2 separate regions of the Homo sapiens genome follow, and region 2 is linked to region 1. Evidence: promoter capture Hi-C in 16 types of primary human blood cells and fetal thymus (Javierre and others, 2016). All regions are on one chromosome and are shown on one strand. Each heading gives the region's core, a stretch centred on a gene start or on the middle of the fragment in contact. The rest is flanking DNA. Distances are from core to core; before and after follow the strand shown.

Evidence for each region. The method cuts DNA at HindIII sites, captures the fragments that hold promoters and counts their contacts. A CHiCAGO score of 5 or more calls a contact.
Region 2: a contact is called between the fragment with the promoter of PPP2R3A here and the fragment with the promoter of NMNAT3 in region 1, in 1 of 17 cell types (fetal thymus). The highest score is 11.4, in fetal thymus.

What each region holds. Positions count from the first base shown.
Region 1 is chr3:139,675,869-139,681,364 of GRCh38, forward strand. NMNAT3 (nicotinamide nucleotide adenylyltransferase 3) reads right to left here and starts at 2,104. Exons shown (of 7, transcript NM_001401600.1): 1 at 1,837-2,104. RefSeq lists a silencer at 2,158-2,207. The HindIII fragment of the contact is 2,876 bases long and covers 677-3,552 here.
Region 2 is chr3:135,963,295-135,968,790 of GRCh38, forward strand. PPP2R3A (protein phosphatase 2 regulatory subunit B''alpha) reads left to right here and starts at 2,434. Exons shown (of 14, transcript NM_002718.5): 1 at 2,434-2,555. RefSeq lists an enhancer at 2,008-2,826 and silencers at 2,271-2,500, 2,631-2,910. The HindIII fragment of the contact is 2,094 bases long and covers 1,245-3,338 here.

The sequences.
Region 1 (5,496 bases), core at 854-3,353:
GGGTGGGAGTTAATATTTCTTCAGGGCCAACGATATGCTAAGCACCTGTTAAGCCTGAGCAATCCTCACGACTCACAAGGTGAGTGAGCTGCCCAGGGTCAGTCACAGAGCTGAGAAGTGCCAGGTCTGTGACCACCAAGCCTGGAGCTTCCCTTCTCATGGGCTGGCATCCTGCAGTGGTCTGAGAGGGGAAAAGAGAGGCTGCACAATGGCTGCTCTCTCTCCTCTTCCCTCCAACACCCTCTGTTAACATCATACCTGTTCTTTTTTACCACTCCCCACAAATGGTGCCAGACTCCTGCCTCATCTGGGTTCCCCTACTCTCTGGGCCTCTCAGTTGGTTTTCATGGAGCACTTTCTTTGTCTACAACAATGTTGTGAACAGAGCCAAATAAGAAATTGGGATCATTTGAGCCAATAAAATACAGTGAGCAGCTGACAGATGTTTCCTGAAACCTAAAATGCTCTCCCAAATCCATGGGGTCTCAAGGTCTGACACGTCCTTAGCAAGGTCCCAGCATAGTTGCTGCTTCTGGGAAGTCTTCTGTCCAGTTTTAAGAGGTGACACCAAAAGCTGAGAACCACCAATGAAATTCAAGAAGTAACTGATGCTCAGTGGAGCTGTGTGAACCATACCTTCAGGGGCTCCTGGGTGGCTTTCTGAGAAAAACAGAGAAGCTTTCCCCTGCAAGGCCAGTGGGTAAGAACCCTTTCTCTGGGTTGTGCCAGGGTGGAACTGTCACTTTATTTCACCTGGCCCACCGGACATGGGCTCCAGGAGGGCAGGGCCCCTGTCTGATTTCTCTCTGAATCCTCAGAGCCAGGGTAAAGTGGGCGCCAGTTAAATGTTTCAAGAATGAACAACTAAACCAGTCATCATTTTAGAGAACAGGCTGTTTGAGAGATTCTACTCAGAACCACTTATTTGATAGAGGAAGAAACAGGACTCAAGGAGAGGGGAAGTGACTTTGCTGAGAGGCAGGCACACTGTGTTTAGTCCAGAACAACATCAAGCCTTGGATGTTTAGTGCAGAGTAACATCCAGCACCCATCACGCAGTGCTAAGTCATTTACATTCACCATTTCCATTCTCAATGGGTAGAACAATCCCATTTTACAGAGGAGAACGTTAAGGTTAAGGAACTTGCTTTCCCCCCAGCTCTCTGCAGGCCAGCCCCACCAACCCTCCTTTCCTCAAGCCACATTCTCTCCCAACAAAATGAGTTTGCTCTGTTGTTCCCCGCCCGGGAATTCTCTAAAGTTTTAGTTCCAGCAGCCTTTGTAGCTGGGGGCCCTGATAAAATCTCTCCAGCACCCTAGAATTTCAATCTTCATAGCTCTGACCACAGTTTTAACGTTCACACTTGTTTGCATAGATATCCATTTGCTGTCGGTCTCCCCCCACTGGACTGTGAGCTGCACGGGGGAGGGCACCACATTTTTTGGCCTGCTACTGTAACCCCAGCACTTAGCCCAGCAGCGGACACTGAGTGGAACACGTTAAGTATTTGTTAGACACTGTGCTTATATTTTTAACCTTTGAGTGCACGAGTGCTAAAGGTGGGATCCGAACCCACGTCTCCGGGACTCTGGTCATAGCCAAAGGGGAGCTGGGGGTTAGGTTGACACGCTGCAGCGAGAACCGCCGGCGCGCAGAGGCAGCGCGGAGCTGTCCCCCCGGTTCGCGCCACCCCGGATGGCTCCGCACTCCGCCGCCACCTGTCGCCCCAGCGGGGACTCCCAGGACTCAGTTAGGGGCCAGGAGTCACGTGGGCCCGGGCATTCAGCCGCGATCCAGGTCCTAGTGGGCTGACGAGGGGCCCACGCTGCGCTTACCTGCTATTTGCAGGGCTCAGCAACGGCGCTCGGCGAGTCTCGGGGGACTGCGGGGGACTAGGGGACCTGCTGGGCCTAGCAGGGGCTGTCGGTCAGCGCGCGGCCCGGCGCCCGAGGTCCGAGAGGGAAACGACGTTTGGTCTCGGGACTCAAGGCTGCCTCCGGCCCGGGCAGCCTCAGGTCTAGATCCCCTAGTACCTGAGCTGGAGGCGGGGCCAAGGCGAACTTGACCTTGCGCTCCCTTAGCGGCCCCGGGCAGATGGAGTCTGAGGGAAACAGATCTGCGCCCCGCCCCTTCGCTGGGGCGGGCCCTAAGGAGACCCGGCCCTGGCCCCGCCCAGGGTCCTAAGCCCCGCCCTCTCCCCTGCCCCCGCCCCCGCCCGCTGGCTCCCAACCGCCAAGGCTCTTTTGTGTTGCGTGCGTGTTTGCTTTTTTATTCTCCTGTTTTGTATTCTGTTTGTTTTGTATTTTTATTTAATTTTCTTTTAAAAAAATACATGAAAGTAACGCCCACTTACTTATTAGAAAATAAAATTATCTAGATTTGCTTATAATGAAAGCAACAGGCCACTTCTCCCTCCCATCACAGCTCTTTTTAACAATTCCTCCGTTAATTTCTTCTAGTGGTCACCCGCTTGTCGCAAAAAAAAAATAAATAAATAAAATAAAAAAATAAAAAAAGAAACTTACATAGCGATTTCTTGATTTATCCATTGACTTTCTGCCATGTTATATGAGGATCTACTCTCTTACTGCGCGGCCCCTGTTTCCTTCTGACAAATTTACACCTCTATTCTCAAGCCCTGCCCTGGTAAACGCCAGACCTCAAAGCAGGGAAGGATTTCTGGGGCCTGAAGCATACACAGTTGTGTGGGGAGAAGGAAGGGAGGGCTGCTTAAGAAAGAGAAGACAGAATTAGGGCTTGCCAGTGAACATTTATTTGGAATGAGAAAATAAATCTTAACAGAATCCTGGGGTCTTAGAGATTGGGGTCCCTATCCCCTAAAACCTTCTTAGGAAATTTAGGTCCCAAATTTGCTTCCCTAACGCAGTCTGGCTTCCTCTGCCCACCCAGAACTCTCCATAAGCCCCCAGGGCTCATGGGAGCCTTGCAGAGAGAGGCCTTGAAGGACAAGATTCACTAGATTCTGCCAATACAGTTTCCTAATGGAGTGAATTGGAGTGTGCGAAAAAGAGAGACATCAAGGATGATGTCAAGGTTTTTTGATTGCTGTACACTTAATTTCCAGCGTTTCCTAGACACAGGAACACAACCTCATCTTAGTATGGAGAGTGTTTTATAAGCCTGTCCACATCACCAGAGCCTCACGGTGCACCCATGAAGTTGGCTGGACGGGTGCACTGTCCACAGTTTTAGGAGGCCCATAAATTTGTCCCTTGTGTATTAGCACCGGGGGCATGCAACTTGCACCCAATAAGTACCCAGGTAAATGGTACTTCCCCACTCAGTCTGAAGACACAGTGTCCGTGCCCTCTCGGATCCCTTTTCTCTTACCTGTGGTGTAAAATGTGGCTCCAGAAGGTGATCTTGGACAAGTCTCTTTACTTCCCAAGCCTCACTTTCCTTTCGTATAATGGGAGGTAACAACCCCTACCGCACTGAGTTTTGGGGAGGATTAAGTGGCTTAACATCTTTGGATATTCTTTAATTGATAAGTCAGCTTATTTCCCAGCAGGGTGGGAGGCTCATGAGAAAGCTTAGGGATTTCTGAGAATCTTGTGTAGCATGTAGTACCACAGGTTGATTAGAGGCCTTCGATTAAAATCGTGGGCTGAAGAGTCATTCTGGGTCAGGGCCCTAGGCCAGGGAGGGAGAAGCTGCACACAGAGAGCAGAGAAGAGGCTGGGCAATGACTTCCTCATGCAAGGGAAGCTTTCTCTGCCTGAGGTAGTGAAGACTAAAGCTTGGTCTAGGAGGAAGCCTGGTTTCCTAGGCAAGAAAAAAGGAATGAATTAATGGCATTCACAGCAACTGGATGAGATTGGAGAGTGTTATTCTAAGTGAAGTAACTCGGGAATGGAAAACCAAACATGGTATATTCTCATAAGTGGGAGCTATGCTATGAGGATGCAAAGACATAAGAATGACACAGTGGACTTTGGGGACTCAGAGGGGAAGAATGGGAAGGGAGTGAGAGATAAAAGACTACAAATTGGGTTCAGTGTATACTGCTCGGGTGATGGGTATACCAAAATCTTACAAATCTCCTCTAAGGAACTTACTCATGTAACCAAATACCACCAGTTCCCTAATAACCTATGGAAATAAAAATATTTTTTTAAAAAAGTAGCGTCCCCTTGTGCTGGAAGGTAAGAACCTCATATAATAGCCAAGCTTTACCTAACCTAAGCGGTGAAGACGCAATGGCTGAGAAATCCATTTTGGAGAGGCAACTACCTCCTAATTTTTTAGAAGGAGGAATACCTAAATGCAAGTCTTGTATTTGCTTAAGCTCACAAAAAGACTACTGGATTATGGGTATAATGGGAATAATATTTTCAGATCTCTCCTTTATTGGTAAGTTTCATTTCTCCTGGATCCTATCTGCCATTATGGCTCAAGGAAGGTGGCCACCTAATGCCACCTCAGGAAGGAGGAAGATTTTACATAGAGGATGTCTCAGCTTGAGTGCCTCAGAACCAGATCCTGAGGTAAGAATTAATGCAAGTAGTTATTTGAGAGGTACATGGAACACCAGCAGAGTAATGAAGAAGCAATACAGGGAAGAAAAGGGGAGCTCAATAAAAGATTAAGCCAGCTACTATAATAGATGTTTAGGGCTTAATCCTAGGGGAAAACCCTAGAAAACTGTGTGAAGAGCATGCCTTGGAATCATCCCACCCAAGGCTGCAGGAGACAGGTCTCTACAGGGAAAAAAGCTGGAACTGACCACTTAGCTCATATTTTTGAACATTTAAAACATTATTTCTAGGCATAAAAATGTCATTACTAAAATGAGATCTGGCTACAGTATAACACTATTCTGCAGTTTCCTTCTATCACTTAACAGTGTGCTGATGAAGTTTCAGGAGGAACTCTTTGGGCAGTAAGCAATGTGCAGATGGCTGAGAGTCACAGTCCTGGGATGGACCTGAGGCCATTCTGGAAAGCTTGCTTGTGGATGGATTGTGATGAGGCCGTAGACTGGGGCAGCCTCTGTATTTGGATGAACCTATTCTAACCTTGACTTCTGACCTGTCGCTGAGGAAAAGCAAGCTTTGAGTGGGTAAAAGTAAAATGTAAAAGGGAGACTGGTGGACTTTTCAAATGACCAAAGAGGGCAAACTTTTCAGTCACTGCAACTACTTCAGCAGATGGGCATTTTCTTTTCTTTTCTTTGAGATGAAATTTCACTTTTGTAGCCCAGGCTGGAGGGCAGTGGCGTGCAACCTCCGCCTCCCAGGTTCAAGTGATTTTCCTGCCTCAGCTTCCCAAGTAGCTGGGATTACAAGCGCTCGCCACCACGCCCAGCTAATGTTTGTATTTTTAGAAGAGACAAGGTTTCACCATGTTGGCCAGGCTGGTCCTGACCTCAGGTGATCCACCCGCCTTGGCCTCCTAAAGTGCTGGGATTACAGGCATGAGCCACCGTGCCCGGCCAGGTGTTTTCTTACAAACAGTGAACAGATAGTGCTCAT
Region 2 (5,496 bases), core at 1,184-3,683, 3.7 Mb before region 1:
AAAAATAGACCTTATCATTTAGAGATGCATAGTGAAATATTTATGGATGAAATAATAATGCTCCATGTGATTTGCCTTAAAATAATCCAAGGAGGGAAAGAAAAGGTGAGGGTACAGATGGAACAAATTGGTCATGGGATAATTGTTGAAGCCAAGTAATGGGTGCATAGTAGTTAATTATATTATTCTGTCTCTGTTTTCAATATTTGATATTTTTATACTAAAAAAAATTTCAGATGTTTTCTTGTCTAATAAGACTTGCCCTACTCTCTTCCTATACCTCATAGAATTAATTGTGCTCATGACTGCTCCCCTACCGTCATGTAATTTAAACATTTATTTTCAAATCTTTCTCCCTTACTTGGCCATAAGCTCCTTGAGAACAAAGATTGACAGAGTTTCACTCTGATCACCCAGGCTGGAGTGCAATGGAGAGATCTCGGCTCACTGCAACCTCCACCTCCCGGGTTCAAGTGATTCTCCCGCCTCAGCCTTCTGAGTAGCTGGGATTACAGACGCGTGCCACCACGCCTGGCTAATTTTTGTATTTTTAGTAGAGATGGGTTTTCACCATGTTTACCAGGCTGGTCTCAAACTCCTGGCCTCAGGTGATCCACCCTCCTTGGCCTCCCAAAGTGCTGGGATTTCAAGCGTGAGCCACCACGCCCAGCCCCTGTATCTTCTTTATTTTATATCATTTGTATTCCTACCACCTAGTACAGTCTGAGTACTCAATACATTGTGGTGAATTGGCAACTCTCTAGCCCCAATTCACCATGGTCCTCATGACAGAGAGACTAACTCTATTGTATTGAATCAAATTTCCAGTCACGTATTGTGTCCTTTATACATTCAAGTTATAATGTGTATAAATGCATGGCAAAAGGGCCAAAGGAGCCCTAATGTAAAAACATTGGCAATAAAACTGTTGAGACAAACCAAGAATCCAGGTTGCCAGGGTCAGCAGTTTTAACATTGTTTTATGGTACATTGTGTACTTTTCCTTCTTACTGATATGCATTGCACTGTGACCTTTGCAGAGTCCTATCCTGCCCTGCATTTTTCACAGAGTTGCTCTCAGTCTCAAATAAGATACCATATGCATGTGAAAGGGCTTTTGAAATGGAAAAGCAGTAGAAAGTTGAAAGTAAAATGGTCTCTTTCTCTCTAGGGCATCAAGGCATCTCACAGAGCACACTTTAGCTACTGGGAGGATTGACCTTGGGTGAAATTTCAGTATGTAAAGCTTGTTTGGGGTTATCTTACATAATTTTTTCTTTCCTTGTGCTATACACACACACACACATATATGTGCATATATGTACAATGCACATATATACACACACACATATGGCACCTAGTATATGCTTGGTGCTATGCTAGGTGCTGGGGAGACAGTGAGAACAACCCAGGTGCCCAGGACCTGTCCTCACAGCCCACCTAATCCTTTTAAGTCTTTACATACCTCCCATCCCCCACCCCCATGCTCCTTACTCATGGTATTCAACCCAACTGATTGACTTATTTATTGTTATTTATATGCTTATATATTTATAGATTTATCATTTTATCAAGATTTTTACGAAGATACTCAATTGGAGGTTCCTAATTCTGGAGAAATTTCCATTTTACAAATATATTCTTGGAGAGGGCATGATTATGGACCTGTCACATTTGAGTACTGTGGCAGTTAGAAGGAGGGCAATTTTGGGAGGCCCTTCCAGGCTATGTCCTTCCAGCTATTAATGAGGTTCTGTTTCAGAGCAGACCATATTACACGGTGTTATTAATAAATCTGGCGAGTGGTTATAAGGGTGTGTGTATCGGAATAATCCATTAAGCTGTACATTGGTTTTATATGGCTGTCTATATTTGTGTTTTATTTAACAGTAACAGTTAACAATAACAGTTAAAAATAAGTATCACTTCTTTTAAAATTCACACAACTTCTTGGGCTGAGTGAAATGTGGCGCAGGTGCAGGACTGTGGGAAGACAGGAGCGCCAGGGAATGTCTGGCCAGCAGCGCGCTGCCCTCAAGGGGCCTCCTTGAAGGCCCCTTGAAGAGGGCAACACAACTAATGACGATAACAATAACAACGATGACAATATTGACGATGACAATAACAGTAATAAATCCGAGCAAGAGACTCGAATCTGTCAAACAGCAGCGACCACCACGAATCGCATCCCCGCGGCGCCGCCATACAGGAGACTGCCCTCGCCGAGGCCACAGCGGCTCTCGCGGCGCCCCTGGAGGCCCCCTTCCTGCCTTGGCCAGAGGGGCGGGGCGTAGGCTGGGGGCGGGGCCGGAGAGTGGGCGGGGCCTGGCGCGTGGGCGGGGCTCCGGGCGGGCCGGCCGCCGAGGGTGGGGCCGAGGAGGAGGAGGAGGAGGAGGAGAAGGAGGTAGGGGCCTGCGGGTGGCTGGGCGGGGCGCGCTCGGGCCTCCGCTCTTCACGCGCCGCATTCGTAGCCCGAGAGTCCGCGCCGCGGGGAGGCTTGGAGGCAAGCGCTGCCCGCGAGCTGAGCCGCCGGAGGAGGAGCCGCGGGCAACGAGGTAGGCAAAGGAACACTGGCCGCACGGCCTGGAGCCTTCAGCTCCCTCGTCCCGGCCCGAGGGGGTGGCGAGGCTCGGGGCGGCGCGCGGAGGCCGGGGCGGGCGGGGCCGGGACCTGGGGGCGGGGACCGGCCTGGCCAGAGGGGCCACACGGAGCTGATTGGGCTGTGGAAGTCGGAATTCCAGTCGGTGCGGTGCGGTGCGGTGCGTTGCCTCGGCGCGGCCGGCCGGTCCCGGGACACGGCACCAGGGAGGTGTGGAAATTGCCTGCCCCAGGGGCGCCCGCGGAGGAGGGTAGGCGGGGGCGGCCTGGGCCCTCCCACTTTTCAGGGCTCCTGGGCCAGTTCGCCCGCACAGCCCTCGGGAACTTGTTAACAGGAAAGCCTGGCAGAGAAACAAATGCCAGCGTTTTGGAAGAACTGAGAGTCACGTCGTTAGGCGCTGAGGCTTTCTTTTCCTTCCCCGCCCCCTGCCCAACCTCGGCCCGACTTGGCCAAAGAAGGATGTGTCACCAGCTCCGGGCCGCGGACGGGATTCCCGGCCCGCCAGGAGCCGGGGTACCTGAAACAAAGGTAAACGGAGGCCGGGCGGCCCCTGGTCCTGCACCGCGGCCGCGCTGGAGCGCCTCGGTGGGTCTCTCCCGCGCCGACCTGGCCGCCGCCGCCGCGGAGGGGCGTTCTCCTGGGGGACCTCTCGATGGAAACCAGCTGGCCGGGCTTGGAGTTGATGTTGCATCCGAACTCTGTTGTGCTCCCGTTATTCCCAGTCCTCCCACTCTGGTAAAGCTTAAGGAAATTTTATCCAGTCTTGGTGGTCAGCAAATGTAGGGGAAGACAAATTATTGTTTGTAAATTATAAGGTATTTTCTAATTAGGAAATGGCCTGAAAACATTAAATTCTTAACACGTAAGCAAAAAAAGAGTAATTCCTTCCAACATCTGAGGAAGTATTCCTCCTCAAATCTTCATTTATGTACAAAACATCCCCCACACCTTTGGTGCCAGGCATTTTTCTTTGTTCTTCCTTAGTCTCAGGCCTTAGTTTCTTGTAAACAGAACCCAGCGCCTAGACCCTAAGAATTGCCATACTAGGTCAGAGCATGGGCGTCCAGTTCAGTAGGCAGCCGGCTTGTGTTGTAGTAAAACTGTTGTTTTTTTTTCTTGGTGGTATGTTAAAAATTATCTCAGTTTCTTTCAGTAGTCCATGAAAGCCTTTTAAAAATTTTCTAAGCCACTGCTAATTTACACACACAATTTATTTACATTTATTGCATCCAAATGGCCCTTTTATCACCTCTGGCAGAAGAACTTAATGGCATGAGATACTTGTGGAAAAAAACTTAGATCTTTTATACAATCTAGGAGCTCAGAAATCTAGGAGATTTCTAGGAGAACGGGGAAACAGATCAAAAAGGTTTTTAAAAAACAAAGCTTTGGGAAAGTGTTACTGGGGCCAATCTGGCTGTTGAGTTCAAAAATAGCTTTATGCACTGACAACCTGAACATTGAGCAGTTAAAGATTTATTTGTACTCATAAGTATTTGCATATTTTAAAATGTAGCTTAACATTCTGGAGAGTGAAGGGCCTATCTGACTTTATCTTGGGCTGAATTAATTTGGCCTTAATGTTCAGCTGAAACCAGCTACTCTGAGAGAATGGAAGTTTTGTTTCAGCGAGAAAGGAAAAAAGGAAATGAATAATTTTGGAGTATAGGGTACTTGGGGGCACCTGTTCAAATCATAACTTTGCTTTTAAACTCTTCAGAGACTCCTCCTTGCTCCTGACAAACATAGTCCCCACTGATCTGGCCCCTGTTACCTTTCAAACACACAGCTGAAGCTTCACCTCTGCCCTGAAGCTTTGCTTGACACCCCCCATCCCCCAAAAAGAAAACAGATATTTAAAAATCACCACCCTCAGAAGTGCAATTGACAGCTCTTTTGAGTGTTATCGTCCTCTGAGTCAGAGTTTCTCATTTGTAGTTCTGTTGACATTTTAGGCCAGGTAATTTCTAGTTGTGGAGGGCTATCATGTGCAGCGTAGGATGTTTAGCAGCATTTCTAACCTTTACTGAGGAATAGATACCAGTAGCACTCCACACACACAGTTGTGAACATCAAAAATGCTTACAGACATCGCAAATGTCCCCCAGGAGGACCAAAATCACCCTTAGTTAAGAACCACTGTTGTGAGCAGACTGCTGCCTTAACACTAGTGACGCAGCATTGTCCTCATTTGCTTAGGTGTTTACTATACTAAGCTTGAGGGCGGGAACAGTTATTTATTTAACAGATTTCTGAAGGCCTGTTTTGCCAACTGGACACTAGATTAGGTATGGAAATAGATTAGTAAAAACAACTTTGCATGCCTGGACCTTATAGTCTAAGGAGGGTGACAGATGTATACATGCATAAATATACATTTATCTCATTACGATTGTGTTAATTTCTGGGAGAAGTACAGGCAGCTCTGAGTGCATAAAACAGATGTCCTGATGTAGTTTGGAAACTGGGGAAAGTTTCCATGGGGAAGTGACCTTTGAGGTGGACGGTGAAGGATTAACAGGAGTTACTAGGTGAAGCTCACGGGAACAATATTCCGGGCAGAAGGAACAGATGTGAATACCTTGAGGAAGAAAGGAACAGGGCCGCTTTTGGGAACCCAGAAGCCAGGAACACGGAGAGTGATGACACAAAATGAAGCTAGGAAAATAGGCAAAGGCTGTCCACTAAGCAGTGGTTCTCAGTCCAACACTCTCATCAGAACCACCAGAACTTAAGACCGACGCCTGGGCCCTCCTCCAAGCAAATCAGAGCATTTTTGGTGGGTTCTGCTCCCTCCCCCAGCTACCATTTTCCCTGTCTTCCAAAGGAATAACCACTGATACTAGTTTTGTATATCATTGTAGACATTTTTTGTGGGCATTCAAGGAAATGCATAT